Linked DNA regions of Homo sapiens: region 2 is linked to region 1. Evidence: promoter capture Hi-C in 16 types of primary human blood cells and fetal thymus (Javierre and others, 2016). All regions are on one chromosome and are shown on one strand. The core of a region is centred on a gene start or on the middle of the fragment in contact, and the rest is flanking DNA. Distances in the headings are between cores, read along the strand shown.

Region 1 (5,130 bases), core at 2,214-4,713:
TTTTCATTTACATAAAAAATTTAAACCATTTATGAATAATTTCTAAAAGAAAGTCCCTGCTGAAAAATAACACAGAAAACACAAAATTGTACAACACTAGGTCCCAGTAAAATAACAGAAGTAGGATTGATGTGTGGGGAGACATATTCTGAGAACCTTCTTTAAAGTTTATTTGAGAGAGAAATACAGGTTCCTGCCAAATAATACCTGAAAGTCATATTCTGTGACGAAGGTGTTTTTTTTTTTTTTTTTTTTAAAGATACATACAGCTGCCTTTGTGGCATAGTAACTAAAATATAACTTCTACAGAAAAAAATATCATTTCCAAGACTATGGATTATACTTAATGAAAGTATTGTGTCCTGACCACCCTTCAGTGGTAGCCCCGGCATGCTTTATTTCAGAGCTCACAGATCATTTTGATAAGAAGCATATCATGCCAAAGTCACTCTCAGAGTCACACATAGAAAAGGAGCCAGATGTCACCACACTGGGAAATTAAAGTTATCATGCATCTTCAAAAATGATTCTTGTCCCTTAGACTAGGTAGAAATACGCATCTGACAGGCAACAGGGTCAGCATGTATCTTAATTGTCTTTATTCCCCCATAAGAACAGCCCTTACCTTGTGCTTCTGTCAGTGTCTTCAGTTAGCACCTAATAGAGCCACACTAAATTCCTTAACAGTCTCTCATACACACGTGGATTTTAAATTGTGGCAAGTATAGAGTTTTAATATCAGATAAGCTTAAAATTGAGGTTATTCTATTCATTTATGGTTGTTAAGATTCATGACAATTAGAACATAATTTAAACTCACCATTGTTTTTATAAAATAAAAAATATCAGCATCTGTAATAACTAGGTATCATAGATGAAGTAATCAATTCCCAGGAAAATGCAAATAATTATTTAATGTGTCTCTTAGCTGGTTACTTTACCTTTTAATTTGATCAGTTACATCTACATGGTTAACGTTTCCCCAAAAATTGAATCTTTAGCCGTTTGATTTGACTTTCCTATCAAGATAGCTGCCGGCAGGTGCCCTGGGAAATTCTCCCGCACGCCAGAAATCTCTTCGTAACAGAAATCAGTGTACAAAACCTGAATGCCCTTTCCCGCTTCAATTTTTGGCTATGAAAATTAAGGGACTTGACATATTCAAAATAACCAAGGTATGGAAATATTTGCTATAGGAGTTTTATTTTGAATTGCTAAAGTTAAGTTTATAGCAAATGAAGTCTTTCCCCAGATTTCCTTTTTCCCCCTAAATTGAATACTTTCTAAGCTAGCATGACTGACGCTTCCTGGCAAGGCAAGTGAATTTGGAGAAAGGCAACACTTTCCTCCTGTTTATATTTATAAAATGCATTATTGCGAACTATTACTCCACATTCTTCAACTCTAAATATTTAAATAGACTAATCAAAAAATATTGGGAAATGTGAACATTTCAAGTGTAAAGATGATGCTTCCTTTTTCCTCTTTTAAAAGTCATATTCATTATTCAATCCGGTGACTTTCTCAATATCAATGCCACTTTGTGTTGGCATTATCTTTGGAGGACACTAACAGGTCTGTTTCAAAATGATAATTTCAAACAACAAAGTGAATCGCAAGCGCACACTTAGCAGCTGAGAGGTAAATGAGAACCACAACATCACCTCCCTTCTGAAACCAAAGGCTCCAAAACCTTTTGAGGAAGTTGTGGGGGCCAATCCCTCCCAGTGGTCCTGACGTTCGGTCATAATGAATGACTGTTTGCTATTGACATTTATGCCTGCTGACTGTCTGGATAATTTCTATTATTGGAAGAGGCAATAAAGGACCTGGTGACGGTTCGAGGGCACACAGGAAACGGTCTGGTAGAAACTTATCTTAGGCCAATGCAAAGATGAAAATTCTTCAGGAAAGATGGACAACCCCAAACACACCTAACGTTGCCTCCTGCTTTCAAACAACTGGCAAAGCTGATCAATTCTAGCTGTGTTTTTCCAACCGTTCTTTATACTTCTACCTCACTTAAAAAAAATCAGCACATTTCAAATCATGATTAGAACTGAACTTTCTCCTGCAGGCTCACTAGGAACTGACAATAACACAGGTTCCTCTAGGAGAGAAGGGTCGGCATGAGAAGAATCTTTTAATTCTTCCTGGCATGCACACAGGCTACGATGGCACTGGGGGCATTGCTCTCATATTGGAGCGATTGCTAATTTTGCAAAATCCCCAGTGTGAAAGCCCTCCCTTGCTGTAGCATTGACTAACTTCAGCGCGGCCCAGCCCCAGGAATATCAGTAACAAGGCACAGCTGAGTTTGTCAGTGGCCGCTGTCAGCCGGCTGCTTTTCCTGCTTTCCTGGTTTGCGGTTTTTTTCTACCACTAACAAAATATGATGCTTCTTTCTGTTTTCCTGTATTCATTTCTGCTTATTTCTCCAAGGACGAGCCCTGTGTTCTCTTTACGACCCAATGTTTACAAATCGACGGGCACCACATTGAGTAAAAACTGCCAGCCAATTTGGAGAGGCGATCGCAGGGCTTCGCCTATCCCTTCCTCCGGGACAGTTTGGATGGGAGTAGCTGGCGCGAGGGCTCGTTCCCCCGTTTTTGGGTAATTCCTTTGGCACTGGGAGACGAGATGGCCTCCGGAGGGTGGAAGGCAGTGCCAGCCCGGCCGGCCACTGGGGACTGCGGGGCCCGGAGACGCGCGGGGTCCCCGGGGAGCTCCTCGCCGCCCTCGCCCCACTTCGTCCGGGTCCCTCAAACATGTCGCAGCGTGGCTGCTCACTGTCCCCTCTGGGCAAGAGGAGGCCCCAGACATTTCCACGGGATCTGAACTCCCGAGCGCCCTGCACGGAGCAGCCATCCCGCCAGCACCCCAAAGTGAAGCTGCTCACAACGGACAAGCCCGGAGACCCCATGAGAGGCCGGGGTGGAGAAGCCGGGGGTGAAGGGGGGCAGGGGCCGGCGCGCCACGCGGTCCTTACCTTTCCGCTTGGACCTCCGCCTCCTCCTCCTCTTGGACTTGCATTTGAGTTGACTGCTCAGCCCTCCAGACCCTCTGCCGCTCCCCAGGACCGAGGCCATGGCCGAGACCCAGGCGCGGAGCCCAGAGCCGCCTCCCTCCTGCACCTGCACCTGCCTCCTTCCCGGCAGCCGCCGCCGCCGCTGCTGCGAAGCTTGAGGTTGCAAACCCGGGAGCGGCTCACTTTTCAGGACTGAGCAGGAAAGCGCGCTCCGTCTCTCTGTCTCTCGAATTGTTCTCTATGACTTGCTCCCACTGGGCTGGGGGCCTCGGCTGGGCGCCTGGAGCGAGCTGCTCCCTGGTCAGGGAGGGCGGGGAAGGGCGCGCGGCGTCCTGAGTGCTCCGAGCTTCCCGCGGGCTCTGCCTCCTGCTCTGGGCTCCCAGCGCAGGGAGGCTACTTTTGCGCCTCTGCTAGTTGTTTGGCACCAGCCACTTTGAAGCCAATCACGCAGGGAGCTTGTCTATTTGCTGCAGCAGCGTCTAATTAGATCCAATCACAACTGCTTTCTGGCTCTGACATCAGCAGCAGCACCAGCCGCACCGCCGCCTGGCCGCTTGCAAACTCAGCTCCCGTTTGGACGGTGAAGCTCCCAGGACCGGCGGCTGGAGGGAGGCTGCTCCCGGGGAACAAGGACGCGGCGCGGGTGCGTCTGGGAGAGACCGGGGGAGCCTCCAGGAGGGACCCTGCCCGGGAGGACGAGGCCTCCTGCCGCAGCCTCGCGGACAGCTCAGCTCGCCCTGCTCAGAAAGACACAGGGACGGGTTTTTCCAACCAACAGTTTTTAACTAGTCAATTCATTACCATGCTCCTTGTGTCAAGGGGGGGAAATACCTCTTTCAGAAATGCAGAGACCGCACTTCCTCAGAAACGGACTGAGGTTTGCAATTCCCCAGGAGACAGCGTCCTGAGGGGCATTTATTCCTCAGAGCCTGCATGCTTGTCTGTTTGCCTCTTCTTTCCCCTCTTCATATTCCTTGGCCGTTTCCAATGCAAAAGATAAATCTTGCATAAAGACAGAGGTTTTGGGATCTGAGTCTGATTTTTGCCGTCAGGAATTTCATGTGTTGCTTTATTTAGGGAACAATGACACAAAAGGAAGAGAAAGCTCTCAGCGGAGAGTTTTGTTGCCAAATGTAATATTTGGATGGAAGAAAGTAACATTTACAAAGAGGTGGATTGCACACTGAAATAGTTTTAAGCAATTTTTTTTTCCAGGAATGTCCTATGTTTCAAGATTATACTTATGGAACCCTGGAAGTCTTATGTAAAATATAAAGAGGAATAGAATCTGGTAATCATCATTGCATCTTGTATTTAAATCACATAAGCTTTTAATTACAATAGTCATGTTTTTAAAAAAATCCACTCTAAAATTCATTAGCACACATTAACATGTTGATATAAAAATGGCACACAAATATTTCTGCTATTCATTGCCTCACATGCAACCTTTTCAGCTGCTTATGTGCCTAGAAATTTCCAGATAATTTTTATCATAAGAAAAAAGAATCACTCTGGGGGACATTGGAAATAATTAGGATGATCCTGTGTTGTTATGTGCTGAGCTGATAGATCGTAGCTCAGTTTTCATTGATGAGAGAGAGTAAGACATTTGATTTCAAATCTTAACTCTACTGCTATGACCTCGGGTAAGTTAAACCGTGCCTCAGTTTCCTCATCTGTAAACTGGGGATAACAACGTCACCCACCTCATAAGTTCATTCATACTCGTTGAATCAGTATCAACCAGTATAGACAGGAACTGGAACATGTTAATTACTCTATGATTATTTATTAAATTTTTTCCAGCAAATAATTTGGAAGGAATGAGCGTATGTTGCAGACAAGCCTCAGAAAGACAGGGCTTCTGCGTTTTCCTTTTAGAATGTTGAACCTTCTAGTCCAACTCAGACTGAGGACCACAATCAAACCAACATCCCTCTTCAGGGCTGGCTTCAACAACCCTGTTCCCATGACAGCACAGCTCAGCTCTGCTGATAATTCCCAGCGAGGGTTGAGAAGGCACATAGCTCTCTCACTTCCTCTCTGCAATACCCGAGATATTTGAGTGCTTAAACTATATCGAGAAACACAGCTCTAGG
Region 2 (4,767 bases), core at 1,247-3,746, 320 kb before region 1:
TCTTTTTGAGACAGAGTTTTGTTCTTGTTGCCCAGGCTGGAGCACAATGGCATGATCTTGGCTCACTGCAACCTCCACCTCCCAGGTTCAAGTGATTCTCCTGCCTCAGCCTCCCAAGTAGCTGGGATTACAGGCACCCGCCACCACGCCCGTCTAATTTTTGTATTTTTTTAGTAGAGATGGGGTTTCACCATGTTGATCAGGCTGGTCTCGAACTCCTGACCTCATTTTATTGATCATTTTATCTTTTTGGTGTCTAAGAATCTACTCCCAATTTAATATATAATTTTAGCTTAGAATTTAATGTATGGACAGTGGAAACTTACTATCAAACACTTTAAAAAAATCCAGCAGAATCCATATGAGAAGTTTATCTTGGCTCATGCATATGCTCCCCTATGTAAACCGAGTTATAGCAAAACCACGGGCCACTTTATGGAGGGCACAGCCTCACTGGGCGGAACCGGTACCCAGAGGGACGGTAAGCCCAGATGGTTGGTGCTGCAGTAAATTAAGCCTGATATAGAGATGTTTGTGGGTTTTATTAAAGTCTCATGATGTCTCTAAGCAGTTCTTGTTATATAACAGAATGAATTATATCGTCCAAGGTTATTGCTCAGATAACCTACTGGAAATGATAGTTTTCCTCCTTCATCACATGAATCTAAATGTTAACTAAGCGCTTGTTAGCTTTTCACATCACATCGGAGGGATTCGTTAGCTCTCACATCTCTGCATATGTGTTTTAAGAGTCTTTAGATAAAAGATGAATCAAAGTGATTCAGTTCTGTAAGTTTTGGACTAGAAATCAGAGTCTCTCTGGACATCATCCGAGTGTAAAATGTAGCACAAATTGCCTTTAAAAATTAATAATTTACCAAATCTATCAGCTATGCCCAGTCTGGCTTGAGAAGATAAGTAAAATAAATATTGTAAAGTCAATTTTTAATAATCTGTGGCATGAAATTTAAGCACAAGAGAAAACATTTAGCAATTAAGCAGGAACATTCGGTGCATGATTAAATGTGAATAATAATACATATTTAAAGGCCTCATAACTTACCTGCTAGCAGGAAATATTTAAAGTTCTAATCTACTACACAGCACAGCTCATGCCGTTTCTTTGTTTAATGAGCTCTTGCCTTGTGATTTTCATGTTTGAGCAGTTACTTTGTAAGTATTTTTACATGGACAGCTACGTGTAAGGCTGACAAAGAGTAGCACAGACAGATATGTGGTGGGGGATTGTCAGGCCAGCGCAGCCACGGAAAATAATATGATCAGATCCTTCATCATGCTGGTAACCAGTGGTTGGCTGTATTCATCTAATTATTGAGACAGCACATTCACATCCGAGGGATTTTATTATAAGAGGTTTATAAAATTTAGAGTTGAAGCTGATCTGTCTCTATCTACCAAATAGAAGCTGGACTCAGGACCATGGTTTTTCATGATGAAGAATCAAATCCTTGATAAATGATGGCAGGTCCTCATCTTCCAGAAAGAGGGAAAAAAAAAAAAAAAAAAGGCAGAGGAAAGGAAATAGCTCGGCTGAGAAACAGAGAGCGAGTGAGCACAGCGCTGACAGAGAGGGAGCCGCTGCCTGCCGCTGAGAACACAGGCTCTGCACCCAGGGCACAGAAGCAGGAGAAGATGTAATTCTCGAGGACCACATTGATTAACGCCCGCCCAGGGCTAGCCACAAATTAGAGCCCCGTCCTGAAAGAAGCAGTGCTATGTCTTGTAAGGCATGCTTCCAAAGGAGCTTGCATTGCACACACCCCGGAGCAAACCGGCAAGTAGAGAAGACGGACACTTCCCAATGAAAGCGAAATGTTCCTGCCTGCCCTGCGCCGCTCGGTTCTCCTTCCTCTCTCTGCTCTCACAGGGTGGTGTTACACCTCCACTGCTCTCCATCTAGTGTGTTTGTGCAACACTCGCCTCCAGGGGGAGCTCGAAGCTCTCCCGCCCTTCACCTCTGATCAGAGCACTGATGTGAGTCAGGTCCCCAGGATGGTGGGGGCACCGGCTGGAGGAGGGCGGGGGCTCCTTCAGACCTGCCTTGATTAACCCGGACCAAAGGGGCCCTCTGCACTGGAGCGTTACAGTCAAAGCACAGCCTGTGCACCTGCCCGTCGGTTCCATAGTGTTTGTCTGCTGCTTGGTTTGTGGGACAGGTGGCTGGTCAGGATCTGCAGGACCTAACCCCACCCACGCTCAGCTGTGAGGAGATTAAAGGGTCTCAGTGTCTCAGGGTCAGGTTCCAGGCTGGCTTCTTGCGATTTCACAGAAGTCACTAAATCTTTTTGGGTAACAATGGGCTTACTCCTAAAAGCAGTGGGAGGTTGGGGGTCAGGGAGCAATTTGAACTTATTCTTCTCTAGATTCTCTTTCATTACAGAGTCTTATTCACATTGAATAAATGTTTATTCATACCTACTGTGGGCCAGACACTATCCTGGGCCCTGGGACTATAGCAGTGAACAAAGTGGACAAAAATCCTGCCTTTATAAAATGCACATGCTGAGAGTTAAGACTCACGATGCTCAGATGGGGCTGCTGTTGTGGAAGTCAGGAGAGTCCACGCTGTTAGTGTTGACTGTTTGTTTTGTCCTTTCCATTGTAAGATTCACCCCATTGCCTCCTAAAGTGAACCCCAGGGCAGGGAACATGTTGACAGGGAGGTGGTCTAATCTAAATCCAGTTAGAACACTCGGAGAGCTCCTAGACTGAAACAGGGAGAAGGAAGCACATTTTGGATGATTGTATTTGTTCCTTGATGGGTCTGCTGAGGAAGAGCTATGTACCCATTGCATGTGCTATTTCCATCTCAGGTTATTTGAAGAGAATACAGAGGAGAAGCAGCCCCAGGTACCTACTCTAGTGGCAGAGTGGCAGGCTTGAGGTGCCTGCATCTGAAAGCTGCTGTGAGTTAGGGAAGCCCCCACCAAAAGGCCCAACAATGGGCAACATCCCCCATCAAAGCCATGGACATATCCCTGGCAACAGACTTGGCTCTTAACTTCCACGAGTTTTTAAGCCAAGGTTGGCAAGAGGAATAGAACGGGGACGTCAAGGTACATCAAAGGAAAGATTCAAAATATATGGAATCCATGAGGCCACATAGGATATTTCACAGCTTTATGCTTTTCTGATAAATCCTGGAAGACTTAATATAAGGTCAGGAGTTTTCAGTGCTCTGATTCGGTAAATTTATTTACAGAGACAGCTGTCCGAGGGTGGAATAAGGACTCGGGAGTGAGAGGGAGGCACTGTCAACACTTTCAGGCCAGACCAGCGGCTCACGCTTTGGAGACCGGGGCTGCAGGTGAGGGCACAGGTGGACCTCAACCCACCTGGACACTCCACCAGAGGGGAAGGCACAGTGAGAGGCAGTGCCCTGTGGCTGAGCTGACGGCACTGGTCTTGGGGCAGGGAGAGGAGCCCGTAGGTCACAATGGCCTTGGTGACCCCAGCCTGCAGGTCACATGTCCCTTACCTGGGAGCCATCTACTCTGGAAACCATGGATACCTACACATCTGTGCAAAATTGACACAGTGCCTCAGTTATTTGGGTAAGGCTGACCAGTGAATTCTGATAAATTGCTGTAACAATGACCACCCATCTGTCAATGTGTCACCAAGCATAGGCTGTATACACTGTGCAGACTGTAAGGATCCACTGGGCTTTCGGCCTGCGGCACCCAGGTATGAAGGGCATTAGCGTACCTCCTATGGCCACACGCAAACTCCGCCTGGGGTCTACCCCATCACTCTCCACTCCATTTTGCAGATGGAGCCCACCGAGTCTCCCTAGAAACAATGGCTTGGATCCTGGGAGCAGTGGCACCCACCTGTCTGGTTCTTATGGCCGAGAGCCCTGCAGCTAGATGTTCTGTGAGCCTGTGTTCCCATTTTATGGAGACTCAGAGAGGTATTTGCCTTGTGCATTTCTCCTGGAGCTTACATCACTGAAGGGGACCCTTGGCCAGCAGTCTCTCTGCTCCGAGTCCCCGAGTCTCCACAGGTGGCCATGGCCATTGGGTTCCAGCTCAGCTCCCACCTTTGCCACCGCCTTCCCAGCCCTCGCTAAGCTGGAGTCCTGGCCCGGGCCCTTGTCCCAGCTTCACGCCATTGCTTACACCCTTGGCCCCCTCCCTTCCTGAAATCACTGTCCTTCTTTTCCCCTCTAATCTGAGTCCTGTTTATTCCTTAAAACTCAGCTCAACTCCCCTGTTCTCACTGAGGGATTCTGCAAGCCTCCTAGAAACCCCTCCGGCCTCCTGGCTCCTGAGCACCCGGCCTTGAGCCTGCAGCCACCTTGCCCAGCACTGCTTGGTCCTGGCAGTGTGGCTGCTGCGTGTTCATGGTGCTAGGGGGACTCAAAGGTTCTAGGGGAGGCAGGGACTACTCTTCCTAGGCCTAGTTGTCTTTGCTACCTTCCTAGGGCCTAGTGAGTTCCATGCCACTGTGTATGCAGTAGGTCCACTATGTATGCAGTAAGATCACTGTGTATGCAGTAGGTCCACTATGTATGCAGTAAGATCACTGTGTATGCAGTAGGTCCACTATGTATGCAGTAAGACCACTGTGTATGCAGTAGGTCCACTATGTATGCAGTAAGATCACTGTGTATGCAGTAGGTCCACTATGTATGCAGTAAGACCACTGTGTATGCAGTAGGTCCACTATGCATGCAGTAAGATCACTATGTATACAGTAAATCCACTACGTATGCAGCAGGACCACTATGTATGCAGTAAGACC

What was found. The method cuts DNA at HindIII sites, captures the fragments that hold promoters and counts their contacts. A CHiCAGO score of 5 or more calls a contact.
Region 2: a contact is called between a fragment that was not itself captured here and the fragment with the promoter of ADARB2 in region 1, in 2 of 17 cell types (total B cells and naive B cells). The highest score is 6.2, in total B cells.

Annotation. Positions count from the first base shown.
Region 1 is chr10:1,734,062-1,739,191 of GRCh38, forward strand. It overlaps ADARB2 (adenosine deaminase RNA specific B2 (inactive)), which reads right to left and starts at 3,464. Exons shown (of 10, transcript NM_018702.4): 1 at 2,990-3,464. The coding sequence starts at 3,089. RefSeq lists an enhancer at 2,796-3,392 and a silencer at 3,354-3,413. The HindIII fragment of the contact is 1,175 bases long and covers 3,180-4,354 here.
Region 2 is chr10:1,419,104-1,423,870 of GRCh38, forward strand. The region is part of intron 1 of ADARB2 (adenosine deaminase RNA specific B2 (inactive)); the gene reads right to left. Among named protein-coding and RNA genes, the nearest start is that of ADARB2-AS1, 110 kb to the right of the region's middle. The HindIII fragment of the contact is 6,008 bases long and covers 1-4,767 here.